4 separate regions of the Homo sapiens genome follow, and regions 2, 3 and 4 are each linked to region 1. Evidence: promoter capture Hi-C in 16 types of primary human blood cells and fetal thymus (Javierre and others, 2016). All regions are on one chromosome and are shown on one strand. Each heading gives the region's core, a stretch centred on a gene start or on the middle of the fragment in contact. The rest is flanking DNA. Distances are from core to core; before and after follow the strand shown.

Region 1 (3,606 bases), core at 697-3,196:
TAGCACTGGTACCACTTTCAATTTTCAGAGAATCCACAACCTCTTTGACTTCAGGGATGATGGTCTTTGGTGGGTCCAAGGACTCTGACTCCACGAGGAGCTGGGGTGCTGAACCCCCCAGGGCTGATGACACTGCACCACGTCTGGGATCAGTTGGTCTGGACTTAACTAGCACTGGGTCAACTGGAGTCAGGTCATTAGGAACAGGGTCAACCAGTGCTAGATCAACTGGTGCTGGGCCAGACGGGACAGCATCAACTGGTGGCAAGTTATCTGAGATGGGAACCACTGCAGGGTCAACTGCTGCTGAGTCAGCCAGGACTGGGTTGATCAGCACTGGCTCAGCCGGGAGAGGCTCAACCAGTTCTGAGCTGGTTGAAGCAAGGTCAACCAACCCAGGGTCAACAGGTACAGGGCCAGCTAGAACAGGGCCAACTGCAGTGGGATCAGCTTCAACAGAGTCAACTGGCATGGGGCTGGCTTGGGCAGAGTCGACCAATGAGAGATGGGTTGGTATAGGATTGGTTTGGATAGTGTCAGCCAGCTTTGGGTAGAGGTCTAGAGGGCCTTCTTTAGCAGGACTACTTTGTCCAGCACTTCTCTCCAAGTTCTTAGGGCTAGAATTCTCCAAGGCAGCTGCCCAGGCCCGAGCCCAAGCCCGGGGCTTCCCCTTACCCTGGAGAGGCCCAGACTCTTTTTGAAGTTCTTCCTGAGGCTGTTTCTGCAAGTTGTCTACCTGAGAGGTCACTTCTGTACCTACAGTAGACTGCCCGCGAGAAGATGACCTCAGCCTCCTGGCATAGCCTTCCACACAGGCTGCTGGCTGCTCCTTGCTCTTCTTCTTCCTGCCCTTTCGAGCTCTCTGGGAACCTGGTGCTGCATTGGCAGGTGGGTTCTGAGGCTCCTTGGGCACCACCGGCTCCACGACCTCCCTGGGCTTCAATAAGCAGGCTGAGTCCAGCTTCTCCTCTGAGTTCAATGACAACCCCTCTTTCTCAGAGCAGAGGGTTACCTTGGGCACAGCAGCCTCTGTCTCTGACTCCAGTGTAGGCATAAGCAGCTGCAAGGCAGAACTAGTCTCTAGCGAGTCATCCAGGAGCACAGGCCGGGGTCCAGGAGAGACCTGTCGCACCACAACTGGGATCTCCAGGTCATCGCCAGCTGTGGCTGCCTGCCCCACAATCTCCAGCACTACGCAGCCCTCAGGCAGTGTCAAATCATCTGGCTGCTCCTGAAGCTCATCCTCAAGTGATGCCAGGTGGGTGAGGTTGGGCAGGCAGTATGGGTGCATGGCCCGCACCAGCTCACTCAGGGAGGAGATGCTCTCATCACCAGCTGCTGGCACTGCCATCTCTGCTGCTGTTGCTTTATCTTCCTCCTCAGGGCAGGCCAAATGCATGGGGAAGTCCGGGATACTGCTCACACAGTTGTCAAGCTCCCCGGCAAGAATCTGGCCACTGAAGCTGGCCACCTCCTCCTCTTCTTCTCCATCACTGCGCTGCTGGGGAGGTGGGGATTGGCCCCAGCGTGGTCTTGATCTTGGGGGTCTCCAGCTAGGAAGCTTGGGGGAAGAGGTCTCTAAGAAAGAGGGTGGGGAGAAGTCCCAAGAGGGATCTGGAAGAGACATTTCAACCTGCAGGAGAGAAGAGAGGTCTCAGGAGGAGTTTTCTTTGGGAAAGTATTTTCCAGACCTGTCCCCACACACTCCTCCTCCCACCTGGGAGTTTCTGAAACCCTCTAGGTCAGGCTTACCCCACTCCCTCTACTGCTGCCTGTACTGGGCCCCAGTGGGTCAACTGGGGTGATGAGGTCACGTTCTGGGGGTGTCCGAGAGAGAGTAAGCAGCTTGTGCAGCTAAGAGGGAAAGAAAGACCTGAGATCAGTCTATGCTTCAGAGCTATATGAGTAGGTCCACAGGCATGGGTCTAAACTTTGTACTAATCCCCTTCCCCTGGTCCCACACTCACAGAGGAGCCCTCCCGGGGTGACACAAGCAGCTCCGAATCAGGAATGCTGTCAAATGGAGAAAGGTTCTCAGAATCTGCATTGTCCAAGATCTCCGTCAGAGCCGTGAGCAGCGACACTTCATTCTGGTCCTCCAGAGATAACCTGCTCTGCTCCAGAAAAACAACCAGAAGGTCCTACCAACATCCCTAATGACCTACTATGCCACTAAGGACTGGATATCGAGAGAATCAGTCTCCCAGGTTCAACTCAGCTAATGGGGCAGCGAGAAGGATCTGAATACCAGAAGGCATGGATTCCAATCTCAGCTACCATCCACCAGCTCTTGGTGTCAACAGAGACCTGTCAGACTTGACTCAAGCTTGGGTTTCACACATTCCCCTACCCTCAGATAAGATGTGGGATGCTCAGCAGACAACCATCGGCTAGGCTAGAAATGAGCTGAAAAACAGAGATCAGAATCCTCTGGACATGTAGTTCAGGGGCCCAGACAGTGGGAAAGGCCTTGGACTATAGTCTAAGCTAGGAAAGGAATTCTTACATGGGACATAATCTGGCAGCCTGCAGCCTAATTCCCACTTAGAGACAAAAAATACACTTCAAGGATTCAGGTTGGGCACCCAGGAAGAAGCTAAGGTCCTGGGAGAGCAGAGCCATGCCAAGAATTTGAGCTAGAACCTCCCATGTAAACCTCCTGCTTGAAGATTTCAGAGTCCAGCCCCAGCTCACCTCTCCAAGGCTCCCAAAATCCTCAATGAGGGAGATAAGGGAGGCATCCATGTAGCTCTGCATGGTCCCCAGCAGTGTCTCATCCTGCAGCATTAGCTCCTCCATTTCCAGGTCCTTGTCCCTCAGAGATGGGCCCAGCCGAGAGAGACTGACAAAGCCAGAATCACCCGCCTCCTCATGCAGCAGCACCTGGAGCAGAGAAGAAGGTGAGAAGGGTATGAGCTCTCTGGCAGCAGCTGATAATATGCTCCATAAATCAGGTACCCTCCACTGCTGGGGCCAAACTCAGCAGCAGCAACACTGTCGCCAAACTTCTGGGCTAGCAGAGCAGAGAGAAGCACAACCTATGAGCAAAAACCCCAATAAGGATGGCAGTTTTCAGGGACCTTCTGGGGCAGAAAAATGTTTGGGCTCCAACCAGAAACAGCTAGAGTCACAGATTAAAACCCGGGAGTAAAAACATCAGGAAAATCAAGATTGTTCAGAATCATCTACTGGCAGCAGTGAAGATAACAGTCTGAGGGGCACACCAAAGCAAAAGAGGTCAGCAAGGAGACAGCTTCAGCTCCAACAACCTCACCTACCTCAAATCCCATTTAGTTCTCTGCTTAGTGCAAATCCTACCTTCTTCAAGAAGACACCCCAGCTTCCCCAGCCCACGGTGATCTCTCCTCACAACTCTAAAATCACAGACTTTTCTGCAGCATTAACTTTTCTGGTAATCACACCCCACCCCCTACCCCCATCCCCATGACACTCATGGGTTCGGTCTCCTGGGTTCAAGCGATTCTCCTGCCTCAGCCTCCGGAGCAGCTGGGATTATAGGCGCCCACCACCACGCCCAGCTAATTTTTGTATTTTTAGTAGAGACAGGGTTTCACCTTATTGGCCAGGCTGGTCTCAAACTCCAAA
Region 2 (3,606 bases), core at 518-3,017, 370 kb before region 1:
CCACCTCCTCCCGTCTACTCTGACAGAGGAGGCTGTTCCCTACAATCCTCCCTAGACAGCAGGTGGCTGGTCCCCAGGCTCTCCACGCTGTTGGCCTCTTGGCATCCTCCCATTGATGCGGGCAGCTGGCCTCAGCCCTGCACAGCCTACTGACACCGATGTCCAGGGGAAGCAACAGGTTTTCACCAGGAGGAAGACTCAGTCCTAAAAGGAGAGGTAACCAGCAAAGATGTCCACTTGCCCCTTCAGGTCTACCCTTTGGCTACACCCCCAAGCAGCTGCAGAACAGTCTTTCAAGACTCATTGAAGATCATCTTACACAATGCCTGCATGAATGTGGTCCTGGACAGTTTCAACCAATATCTCAGTTTTTGGTCCAGCAAGACTTTGAGGACAGGTTCTTTTCCAGAGTCCCCAGAACATCTGTTCTGCCCAAATGCTGAAGGAAGAAACAGGCTGCAAACAGGAATGGGAAATTAGAAAAGACCATTCCTACCCTAAAGCTACTTGAGGGTTACTCTCAGCTCCCCGGAGAAACTGCAGGCCATGGCCGAGAAGCTCCTCTTAATGTCCCACTGCACAATTCCTCCCTGCTGGGGTCCCAGAGTCTCCACCATTTATTTCCAACTGGAGGTGGGAAGCTGTCGGCCCCTTCAATCCTAAGCCAAACCATGGTTCTCTCTACCTAATGCCCTAAAGCGAAGCAACTGCAGAGCTAGGAGGAAGCTCTGCACGGAGAAAGAGAACAGTGCAGAGTAAGCAAAAAGTTTATCAGGAAGAGCTGCTCCGTCAAACTTCAAAAGCAAAAGCTTTGCCCTGATACGACGTCTGAGCTAATCGGGAAGGTATCAAAAGGAGACCTCCTCCTCTCTCCACAAGCACCAGGCCCTCATCTTTGGCCCTCCTACCCACCACAGGAGAGCCCTGGGCCCCCCGAACCCCCCATTCTATGCAGTCTCGTGCCCTCTGAGCTTCTTCGGCTTCGCTCCTCCAAAGCCCTCTCAAATGCTCCCCAGGCCCCGCCTCGCCTCTCCCATCCCACTTCGGCCGCCCCCGCTTGGCTTCCCCTCGCCCACTAATGACCCCCTACAGGCGCCCCCTCTTTTCACCACGTTTACAGTTCCCTCGCTCCTGCCGTTCCCCCCTCTGCTCCTACACACACCCCCAGTCCTCACTCTATTCTCCTAATCCCGGTTAACCCCTCAGTACCCACGGGCTCCGTTAACCCCTTTGTCCCCATTCCCAACTTGAGCCTTAACTCCTTCCCTCGCAGCAAGAAGCCCTCCTTCTGAGTGCTTTAACCATTCTCTACCCCTCCTCCCACCTCCCACAAATTACTTCGCCCTCGGCGCTTTAACCCTTTCCAGCCCGCGCCTGTCCGTCTCCCCGCGGCCCAGAGCATACCAGTACTTGACGATAGCGGTAACCTGGAGCGGGTTCGGCTGGTCAGGGTAAAGGCGGCGGCACTCTCCGTAGATGGCGTGCAGTCCCGGGGGAAAGAGCGAAGCGAAGGCCGGGGGGGCAGTCGGGCCAGGGGCCGGGGGCGCGGTGGGGCCGGGGGCGCCGCTAGGCCGCAGCTCCGCCATCGGGGTGCGTAGGGCAGGCACTGGGGGAACTGGAGAGGGCAAACGACGGGGAGAGCACTGACGGGCCAGCGGGCGGACTCGGTGGGTGAGACTCCCCGAGGCGATGGGGGCTGCAGCGAGGTCTAGCTCCGCGCCTGCGCACGGCGCACTGTCCGCCCAGGCTGTCGCCGCCGCCGAGTCTGCCAGAGGGTGCCTCGGGGCGGCGGGGCGCTAAGGGGGGCGGGGCGCCGGCGCACCCTATCCAAGCACCCATTGGCTAATGTCTGTGCCAGTCACAGGCAGGGAAGGTGTGACTTGACAATAGGCCCCGCCTCCCCTCCCTGTGTTGGGAGTGTCCCAAGGCTCTTGGTCTCCCCCTAGTGTTAGGAGGAACCCAAGTTTAGAGATGCTGAGCACCCTCTGAGGTGCTAAGGTCCCACGAAAGCAGCGAGAAGTGCGCCAACAAAGGATTTGTTACTGTTTTGCTGACGCGCTGCTAACTAGGATTTAAACATAAATCTGACAATGGATTGATTCATTCATCCATGGGGCGTTAGTATTAATAGATGATAATAAATCTAATGTTTTCTAGGGCTATTGACAAAAAGGTCCCTGAAATTTCAAGGGGGCTGGGGGAGAACATAATCCAGAGAAAAAAATGCACTGGGCTCATTTGAAAGCAGTGACACATAACCTCTCTTCACCTCCATTTTCTCAACCATCAGTGTCAATTCTAGCTCGTTATGAAAATTAAAGAGATACTCGAGCAGTTTCTGAAACCCTTAGATGATGTTTTAATGACCAAAAGATTACCTATACCAGTAGTTCCAATTGCCAATCTTCGGATCAATGTTAGCCTGTTATGCAGAAAAAAAGAAAATGCAAAAGGCAACGACAATGTACAGGTTTTTAAACTTAAAGCTAATTTTATGCAATTTAAATTGTTTTCCTTTGTTGTAGGAATATGTCCTCTCGCGTACGTGTGTTAACATTTCCTTTTTGTTAGAGTGTGAGGTGCTAGGAGATGTTTATTAAAGTCTTACAGACCCAAATAAAAACATGAGAACCTTATATTGTCTAAGGGAACGTCGGGGGGAGTGGCAGGGCTGATCTGCAAAATCCAAACATCCATGAATTACGACCAATCCAAACCGAACTACAGACAAGTACTCGAGAAGACTACATACCTCAGCATGCACTGCGAACTCCTTCAAAGGGACTACAGATCCAGGCATGCAACATGACCATCAACCTGTGTCTCTGGCTGTTTAATCTAGGGAGACCACAAATCCCAGGGTACTGCGCATTGGAAATGCGACTCCCAATCTTAAACTAGGCGGGCAACAAAGCAAGCTAGATCGCTAACCCAGGCGCAAAGCTTGCTGGGGATTGTAGTTCTTCAGAGGCGAGGTCGGGCCGCTCCCTCGCCGCCCTGAACCGGCGGCTAGACTGCGCATGCGTGTCAGTGGCGCTAGCGGCGGACCCGGCTGGGCAGTTCCTTCCCCAGAAGGAGAGATTCCTCTGCCATGGAGTCCTACGATGTGATCGCCAACCAGCCTGTCGTGATCGACAACGTGAGTTGCGTCTTTCCTATCTATAAGGGGACTTGGGCTCTCCTCCTCGAAAGGATCGCTTCCCGGGGTTCAGCCTGAGCCGCCGGCTCTTTGTCACTGGCCCGGCCTGTCAGGCGCGTTCAGCCACCGCCGCCTCCTTCCTCCCCTTATCACATAGTCCGCAGGCAAGGCGGCCAGCCAGCAAAAGTGGGATGGAGAACTCTGGAGTGGATAAAGGAAAGAGTTATAGTCCAAGCCAGTCCTTGGGCCCTTGGCTCTAGGGGCCTTAACCGCTGTGTGAGATTCCCGTCGCCCGCCCTCTCCCCCATTTCCGATCGCTCTATTGGTTGCTCTGGCTGTCCATCTTAGCCAATGATACCGCCTCTTAGCCTTGCCGGATGAGGCTAGGCCTCTGCGGTGATTGGCTCACGCCCCTGCCATTCTTCCTTGCCGCCATATTGTTTTCCCTCTTGAAGGGGCGGGGCAGT
Region 3 (3,606 bases), core at 652-3,151, 290 kb before region 1:
TGGAAGAGAAAGCAATAAGCAGTCATCCCGTTTTCTCCATAGTTTCTTCTTCTTCCTTCTCCTTCTTTTCTTCTTCTTTTTTTTTTTTTTTTTTTTTTTTGAGACAGGGTCTTGCTTTGTCACTCAGGCTGGAGTGCAGTAGCACAATCACGGCTTACTGCAGCCTTGACCTCTGGGGCTCAAATGATCCTCCCACCTCAGTCTCTGGAGTAGCTGGGACTACTGGCGTGTGTCACCATGCCCAGATAATTTTTTATTTTTTAAATTTTTTGTAGAGACGAGGTTTTGCCATGTTGCCCAGGCTGGTCTCAAATTCCTGGGCTCAAGCGATCCTCCCACCTCAGCCTTGCAAAGTGCTAGAATTACAGGTGTGAGCCACTGCAGCATAGTATCTTGGCACTGCCTTAGTCCCTAGGAGAGAGGAAAGATGGGACTTCTCTCTTGGACTGTGAGCTCCCTGAGGGCAGGGACAGCTTCCGGGTCCCCAGCACCCCACGAAGGAACTAGCACTAAAAAGGGCTCATCCCTGCTGATGGGGGATGGGAAATTTTATCCTTGAAGGGGACTCTTCCCCTTGTGACCCATTTCAGGGTTCCCAAGAGGGGAGGGCTGTGGGGCTTCCCCACAGGGCAGCACCGGGAATCTGTGGCAGCAGGAACAAAAAGAGGAAGTTGAAGTCTTGTTGGGCCCTGGAGTTCAGCTCTCCTGTCCTAGACAAGCAGCCCTGCCAACATGGGGGATGAAGGCCCCGGGGGGTAGGCATGGTCTACAGGCTGTCCATGACAGGGCTCAGGTGGATCCTCATCCTGGCACCTGCTACCACTCCACCTCTCCCAGACCACGTCCAAAATCCCAGGCTCCACCCTCCGGAGACACAGACCTGTAGCTCACCCCAATCTAGGGGAGACATTGCTGTTAAGGGAATGCAAAAGGTACAGACAGGGTGGGGAAGTCAGTACCTAAGAGACCAGCCTGGGCCACGTGGCAAAAACCCTGTCTCTACAAAAAAAAAAAAAAAAAAAAAAATTAGCTCGGCGTGGTGGCACGCGCCTGTGGTTCCAGCTACTCCAGAGGCTGAGATGGGAGGATCACTTGAACCCAGGAGGTCGGGGCTGCAGTGAGCCATGTTCGCACTCGTGAACCTGCACTCCAGCCTGGGGCTGTAACAGCAAGAAAAGAAGAAAAAGAAAGAGAAGGAAGGAAGGGAGGGAGGGAAAGAAAGGAAAATAAAGAAAGAAGAAAAGAAAAGAGGCCAGGCGCGGTGGCTCATGCCTGTAATCCCAGCACTTTGGGAGGCCGAGGCAGGCGAATCACGAGGTCAGGAGTTTGAGACCAGCCTGGCCAACATGGTGAAACCCCGTTTCTACTAAAAATACAATAAATTATCTGGGCGTGGTGGCGCGCGCCTGTAATCCCAGCTACTCGGGAGGCTGAGGCAGGAGAATCTCTTGAACCCGGGAGGCGGAGGTTGCAGTGAGCCGAGATCGCGCCACTGCACTCCAGCCCGGGAGACAGTGCGAGGCTCCCTCCCAAAAAAAAAAAAGAAGAAGAAAAGGAAAAAAAAGTGAGAGAGAGAGAGAGAGAGAGACGAGAAAAAGAGAGAGAGAAAGAAAGAGAAAGGTTTCGGGTCTCTGACGGATGAGAAGGAACAAGACGGGGATGCAGTCCTACCCACTTCGACTCCACCCCCTCTCAAGACCTTCACGCCTAACGCCTCCCTACGCGCAACAAAACTGGCCGCCAAGGGAGCCCGTCCATAGCCCTGGGACGTTAGAGAATTAGAGCAGGAGCTCCGCCCTGTTGTGGGCAACTTGCCCTTCTCAAACATGGCCGCCACGGCGCCTCTGGAAGGGAACCGCTCTGGGCCCCGCCTTTGATCTCGTTGGTGGGGCTGGGGGATGAGAGCTGCACCGCGCGGGACAAGTCGCCGGCGGCGCCCGACGGAGCAGGTGATTTCCCCTCCTGCCCCCGGCCCAGGGCTAGGAGAGTCGCGGAGAGCGCTGACCCAGGGTACCCGTCCGATGTGTTCCCCCACGGTACCCCCCCCGGGGCCCGTCGGACCCCCATCTCTGATTCTCGCCGTGGCCTGTATCAAGGCACATCCAGTTTGCTCAGGCCTGCCTCGTCATGTGTCCTCCAAGGCCACAGCCGCATCCCTGTGCCTTCGGGCCCACTATTCTGGACGCTTACGGGTGTCCCGCTAGCGGGTTTAGGGAGCTGCTGCTTCAGGGGTCGTCCATCATCGCGGTCCCACTTCCTGTGCTCGCCCTCCCTGTTTGTGCTCCCGCCTGACTTTGGATGCAGGGATCCCTTGTTCCCCTCAATGCCCTTGGTGCCTCTAAGGTCTGACTTGGGTATCAGAGGACAATGATATCCTCTGGGGCCTGCGTTATGGGTCCAGGGCCTCAGGAACCGGGCTTCACAGGGGCTGGGAGAAGCAGTGAAGACCTTCCATGCTAGACCCCTTGCTGCCTCCCTGAGAAGTTCGCTAGGACTCCTTTCACACTAGCTCCCAGGATTCCTCCTCCCACATGGCCTGCTCTCCCTCCACTTTAAGCACCTCCCCACCCCAAGGGAGCAGCATAGTACTTCTTACCCCACTCTCACTTAAATTTGTCCACAGTGTCTCTATCTAGCATCTGGAGGGTCCAGGCCTGTGCTGCCCTTGGGAAGCTCCCAGGCTAGCTGGGAGCAGTGAAGGTGGGGCAGTTAGGGTTGGCTGCAGAAAGGGAGTCCTGCAGAATGAGATTTGGAGAGGCAGAGGGACAGATGCTCTGGGCTGGGAGAGTGGTGTGAGCAAAGATTCTGAAATAGACAATATAGCCAGCCAGGCAGGAGAGGAGATTCAGAATATAGGATGGGGCCACACAATTTGCATCGTGAGAGGTGATGTAGTGTGGTGGTTAACAGTGAGGGTTCTGGATCCAGACAGCCTGGGTGTAAATCTGCCATTAACTTGCCTTGTGACCTTGGGCAAGTTACTTAACCTCATAGTGCCTTCATTTCCTTTCAGGTAAAATGTGGATAATACGGCCGGGCGCGGTGGTTCATGCCTGTAATCCCAGCACTTTGGGAGACCGAGGCGGGTGGATTGCCTGAGGTCAGGAGTTCGAGACCAGTCTGGCCAACATGGTGAAACCCCGTCTCTACTAAAAAATACAAAATAAATTTGCCAGGCATGGTGGCATGCGACTGTAATCCCAGCTACTCAGGAGGCTGAGGCAGGGGAATTGCTTGAACCAGGGAGGTGGAGGTTGCAGTGAGCTGAGATCGCACCACTGCACTCCAGCCTGGATGGCAGAGCGAGACTCCGTCTCAAAAATACATAAATAAATAAAATAAATAAAATAAAATGGGGAGAATAACAGTATCTACATTTTAGAGTTATTGTAAGGATTAGGTAAGTTAATACATGTAAAAGTGCTTAGGACAATGCCTCGTAAGCAGAGGCAATAAATGCTAATATTACCATCATCGGAGGCATTTAGGCAGGACTCATGACAGGATGACAGTCACATTTGGTAGACACCATCAACCAATGATCTCTAATTTGCGGCCCCCAAGAAGCAATGGGGTTCTGTGGGCTACATCTGGAATTTGAAATGT
Region 4 (3,606 bases), core at 1,046-3,545, 260 kb before region 1:
TTTGATGCCCCCGGAGATTCTATGGAGTGGGATATGGATTAGTTGAGATGATGCAATAGCCAAGGCCACATTTAAGAAGCTGGGGGCTTTGTATTCCTTATCTCAGCAACCCCTGGAGCTGCAGGAAACACCCAATATACACATTTACTAAAGACAGAAGCTTCGGGGGGGAAATGACTTGCTCAGGATCACTCAGCTCATATGTGGCAGGGCCAGGTTCTGAAACCTGGGTCTGTTTGACTGCACAGCTTGAGGTCACCCCTCATGCCACCTCTGCCACCAGGCCTGGCACCCCAGGCAATCAGGATACTCACTGCTGTCATGGATGGGCTGGGAGATGACTGGCTTCAGGGGCAGGGAGAAGGAGCCATCACTGGCTCTAAGGAAGGCAGAGAAGCGCAGCCGCACTATACTCAGATCCATCACCTTCTTCAGTTCTTTGGCCTCTTGCTCCAGCTCCCGCTGCTCGGCCTCTGGGCAGTAGGTACATGTGTGACCCCTGGGCTTCTCCCTCCCTGCTCCTTCCATGAGCACCTCCCATGACCCACCCACCCCCTGCACCCATACCCGACCCACCCCCTGCACCCATACCCGTAAGGCCCTGGGGCCTAGAGCGGAGCCGCTGCCTCTGAAGTTTTTGTATCATAGTCCCCATCATGTTCTTCTTAGTCACATGCAGGACACCCAGGTTGTTAAATCTGAGAAGAGAGAATCGGAGGCCTTTGGCCATGCAGTTCTTTCTTCCTGAGGCACCTTTCCCATTGCCAGGGCTCAGCTCAGCCTTACTTCCTCAAGGAAGCCATTGGAGTTTCTACTTAGGCCCTTGGGTTTGGGGCCAACCTACATCTTTCCCCTTGGTCAGATGCTAAGCTCATGGAGGTGGGCTGGGGCCTGGGACTGGCAGACGGGCATACCAGTGGGGGCCAGGCGTAGAGGGCACCTACTGGGCAGTCATGTCCTTGGGCCCCACAGAAACGGCGCAGATCCCCAGCTCCGAGCATTGCTTGCCCACCAGACTGTGGGCATGAGCACGAGGTGGGTCACTGTGTGTTACCAGGTCCACCTCGATCTTGGCTGGTCCCTCGTAGTTACAGATCTAGGAGAGGCAGGGACTGTCAGTCAGGGCCTTGGGCATGCTGTCCACTTAGCCCACCCTCCAGCACCATCCTGGCTCACCTTGACAGTGGGATAGGTCTTTCGGCCCTTCTCACTGGAGGCACCGGGCAGTCCTCCATGGGAGGGGCCTTCACAGCCATATCGAAATCGGAAGCCTCTCTGAAGGTCCAAGGGCATAGTAGCATTGTGATCAGGGAAGACCACCCAGGCCAGCAGTGACCGCAGTGCCTGGTAGTAGCCCTGAACCAAACTACAGCACTCTGATCAGCAGCAGTGACCATCCAATCCCCTGTGGCCTCCTTCGGCAATGGCTCCTCCATGGCCAGCCAGCTACCACTACCCCATTTGTCCCCAAAGCTGAAGCCATTCCACACCCTCCCTTTTGCTCACTCACCTGCTTAGGCTGTTCCACGATCACCAGGTAGGGGCCATCAGCTGGGGACAGAGAGACCTTGCTGAGCCACGATCTCCCAGCCCCTCCCCCAGAGAGAGGGCACATGCTCTCCCTCCCCCGCTTTAGGACTAGGGGAGGTTAGTGAACTTGCTGACCTGTTTCTGGGGCTGGCTCCTTGGGTTCCACAATGGAGGAGTTCAATTTGAAATCATCATATTCAATAATACCATCCAGACCCTGGTTTGGAGACAGACTGGGGGTGGCATCCGACTCTCAGCACCCCCCACAGCCCCACCTCCCATCTCCAAGTCTTCAGTGGTCACTCCCCCCTCCTCCTCAGACCCAAGAGAAAGCTCCTTTTGGAGGCAGAGTTGCAGACAGATGGACAGACTGGCAGGCTGAGAGCATCTGCGAGCATACAGGTGTAAGGCAGCAGAGGGGGCTCGGGCAGACAGGTGGACAGACACGAGGGGCAGCCGGCCGGGTCAGGGGCAGGCGGCATGACTCACTGGGTTGTAGCAACTCTCCATGTCTCTGGGCTAGGCCCGGCTCTGTCTAGTGGCTCCGGCCAGGTTCTGCTTCCCAGAATTTTAGACGCCCGCCTAAAGTTGGGAGGAGTGGCGTGGGGGAGGGGGTCAGATCTAAATGGGGGTGGGCGGGAGATGGGGGCCCAGATTTGGGGGAGGGTCCGACCTCCTCCAGCCGCCTGTCCGGGTGTGGCGGGTGAGATCCGGTGGAGAGCGAGATCCGGAGTTGGGCTTGGCCGGGGAAGGGGCAGGAAAGTTAGAGCAGCTTAGGAAAGTCCCGAAAATACCAAGGGGAGGCGGGGCCGGAGGGGGCGGGCCTGGAAATGACGCCACTGGCCCCGCCCTCGCGACGGGAGGGGCGGGAGGCCCTCGACAGTCTACGGGCTCCCGCTGCTTTTCAGCGGGCAGAGGTCTAGGAGAATCCGGGAAGCCCCGGTGGGGGTTAAGCCCCCTCCTCCCTCCAGGGCAGGGAACAGGAGGGTCTTTCACGGCCGGGAGGAGGCTGGCAGTCTGGGGCCAAGTCCGCCTCCCGCTCCCCTCCCCCGGTCTGGAGCAACCTTGGGATTTTCTGCCAGGAGGGAGGCCACGGCTGATAAACCCCGGGGGCTTTTGGGGGGACATTCCTGCTGTCGGACGGCCTCCCCTTCGAACAGCCTGTAGGCGGGGGCTCTTTCCTGTGGGAGGCCCCGGGGTTCTGCCCCGAGAACGCGATTCTGGGGCTGCGGGAAAAGTGTCTCCTCCTCGGAGTGGGCTCTTTTCTCTCTCTCCCAAACCTCACAACAGCAGCTGGTCCCACACCGCACCGGTTCTGGGCGCGCAGGCGACAGGGAGATCTCTGCACGCTCCCCCCCCCCCCCCCCCACCTAATACAAGAGTGTGTCTCCATCACAGCTCCACAAGTGTGTTTCGGCTGTAGTGCTTGGTTGCATGTTGTGTGTCCATGGCGTCAACATGAGTGTGCAAGCGAGCATGTGTGTAGATAGGTGAATCCCGAGCTTCTCAGTGTGGGTGTGTGTCAGCGCCTGTCTTGATGTACGGACACGGGTGAGCGTATCTTGAGTTTGTGCGTGAAGGGTGTGGGTGCAGGCACCAGTGCACCGGTGGGCACGTCTCCGTGTGCATGTGTGTGCGAGTGCGACTGCACGGACGCTGCCGTGTGTGCGCCAGCACAGGTACAGGTGTACGTACGGGTCCGCGTATCTTTGTACAACGGTGTCGACGTGGATCCGAGTGTCGTCGCCTGCGCGCCCTTTCCGGCTGTGTGCAGCTGCTGCTCTCCAGCCCCAGGCGCTGTCCGCTAAAGGCCCTCCTCCCTCTTTTCTCTTGTCCCGGCCACCCAGGGGTCTGAATCCAGCCACTCACCGTGGCGGCGGCTCTGGTTGCGGCTTCTCTCCGCGCCCGACCCACCTGGGACCGGTCGCGACACCTCGCCTGCCAGCAGGGCTCAGGGCCGGGAAAGCCCCTTCTCGGCCCCCCGGAGGGGGGAATTCCCATGACGTTTCCGTGCGTCACGCCTCGCGCCCTTTTTCATTGGCTGAAAGTTTAACTCTGGACTGGCGCAGCCAACCC

The links. Contacts are between HindIII fragments. The CHiCAGO score rates a contact against its expected background, and 5 or more counts as called.
Region 2: the fragment with the promoter of SUFU here is called in contact with a fragment that was not itself captured in region 1 in 1 of 17 cell types (activated CD4 T cells); the score reaches 7.1 in activated CD4 T cells.
Region 3: the fragment with the promoter of CUEDC2 here is called in contact with a fragment that was not itself captured in region 1 in 1 of 17 cell types (endothelial precursors); the score reaches 5.8 in endothelial precursors.
Region 4: the fragment with the promoter of NFKB2 here is called in contact with a fragment that was not itself captured in region 1 in 3 of 17 cell types (endothelial precursors, M1 macrophages and activated CD4 T cells); the score reaches 7.9 in endothelial precursors.

Annotation. Positions count from the first base shown.
Region 1 is chr10:102,137,127-102,140,732 of GRCh38, reverse strand. It overlaps PPRC1 (PPARG related coactivator 1), which reads right to left. Exons shown (of 14, transcript NM_015062.5): 2 at 2,695-2,883; 3 at 1,968-2,114; 4 at 1,753-1,854; 5 at 1-1,633. Among named protein-coding and RNA genes, the nearest start is that of PPRC1, 5.9 kb to the right of the region's middle. RefSeq lists an enhancer at 1,296-2,495. The HindIII fragment of the contact is 765 bases long and covers 1,564-2,328 here.
Region 2 is chr10:102,502,133-102,505,738 of GRCh38, reverse strand. It overlaps SUFU (SUFU negative regulator of hedgehog signaling), which reads right to left and starts at 1,767. Exons shown (of 12, transcript NM_016169.4): 1 at 1,405-1,767. The coding sequence starts at 1,586. It overlaps ACTR1A (actin related protein 1A), which reads left to right and starts at 3,027. Exons shown (of 11, transcript NM_005736.4): 1 at 3,027-3,139. The coding sequence starts at 3,092. RefSeq lists enhancers at 80-580, 3,049-3,148 and silencers at 873-1,167, 1,482-1,951, 2,629-2,698. The HindIII fragment of the contact is 2,134 bases long and covers 812-2,945 here.
Region 3 is chr10:102,430,869-102,434,474 of GRCh38, reverse strand. It overlaps CUEDC2 (CUE domain containing 2), which reads left to right and starts at 1,901. Exons shown (of 9, transcript NM_024040.3): 1 at 1,901-1,949. RefSeq lists enhancers at 266-899, 900-1,535, 1,467-1,636, 1,807-1,936. The HindIII fragment of the contact is 11,516 bases long and covers 1-3,606 here.
Region 4 is chr10:102,394,394-102,397,999 of GRCh38, reverse strand. It overlaps NFKB2 (nuclear factor kappa B subunit 2), which reads right to left and starts at 2,295. Exons shown (of 23, transcript NM_001322934.2): 1 at 2,204-2,295; 2 at 2,020-2,112; 3 at 1,666-1,747; 4 at 1,511-1,551; 5 at 1,177-1,275; 6 at 945-1,096; 7 at 592-698; 8 at 315-473; 9 at 1-19. The coding sequence starts at 2,040. RefSeq lists enhancers at 1-228, 1,700-1,819, 2,230-2,279, 3,330-3,606. The HindIII fragment of the contact is 5,152 bases long and covers 163-3,606 here.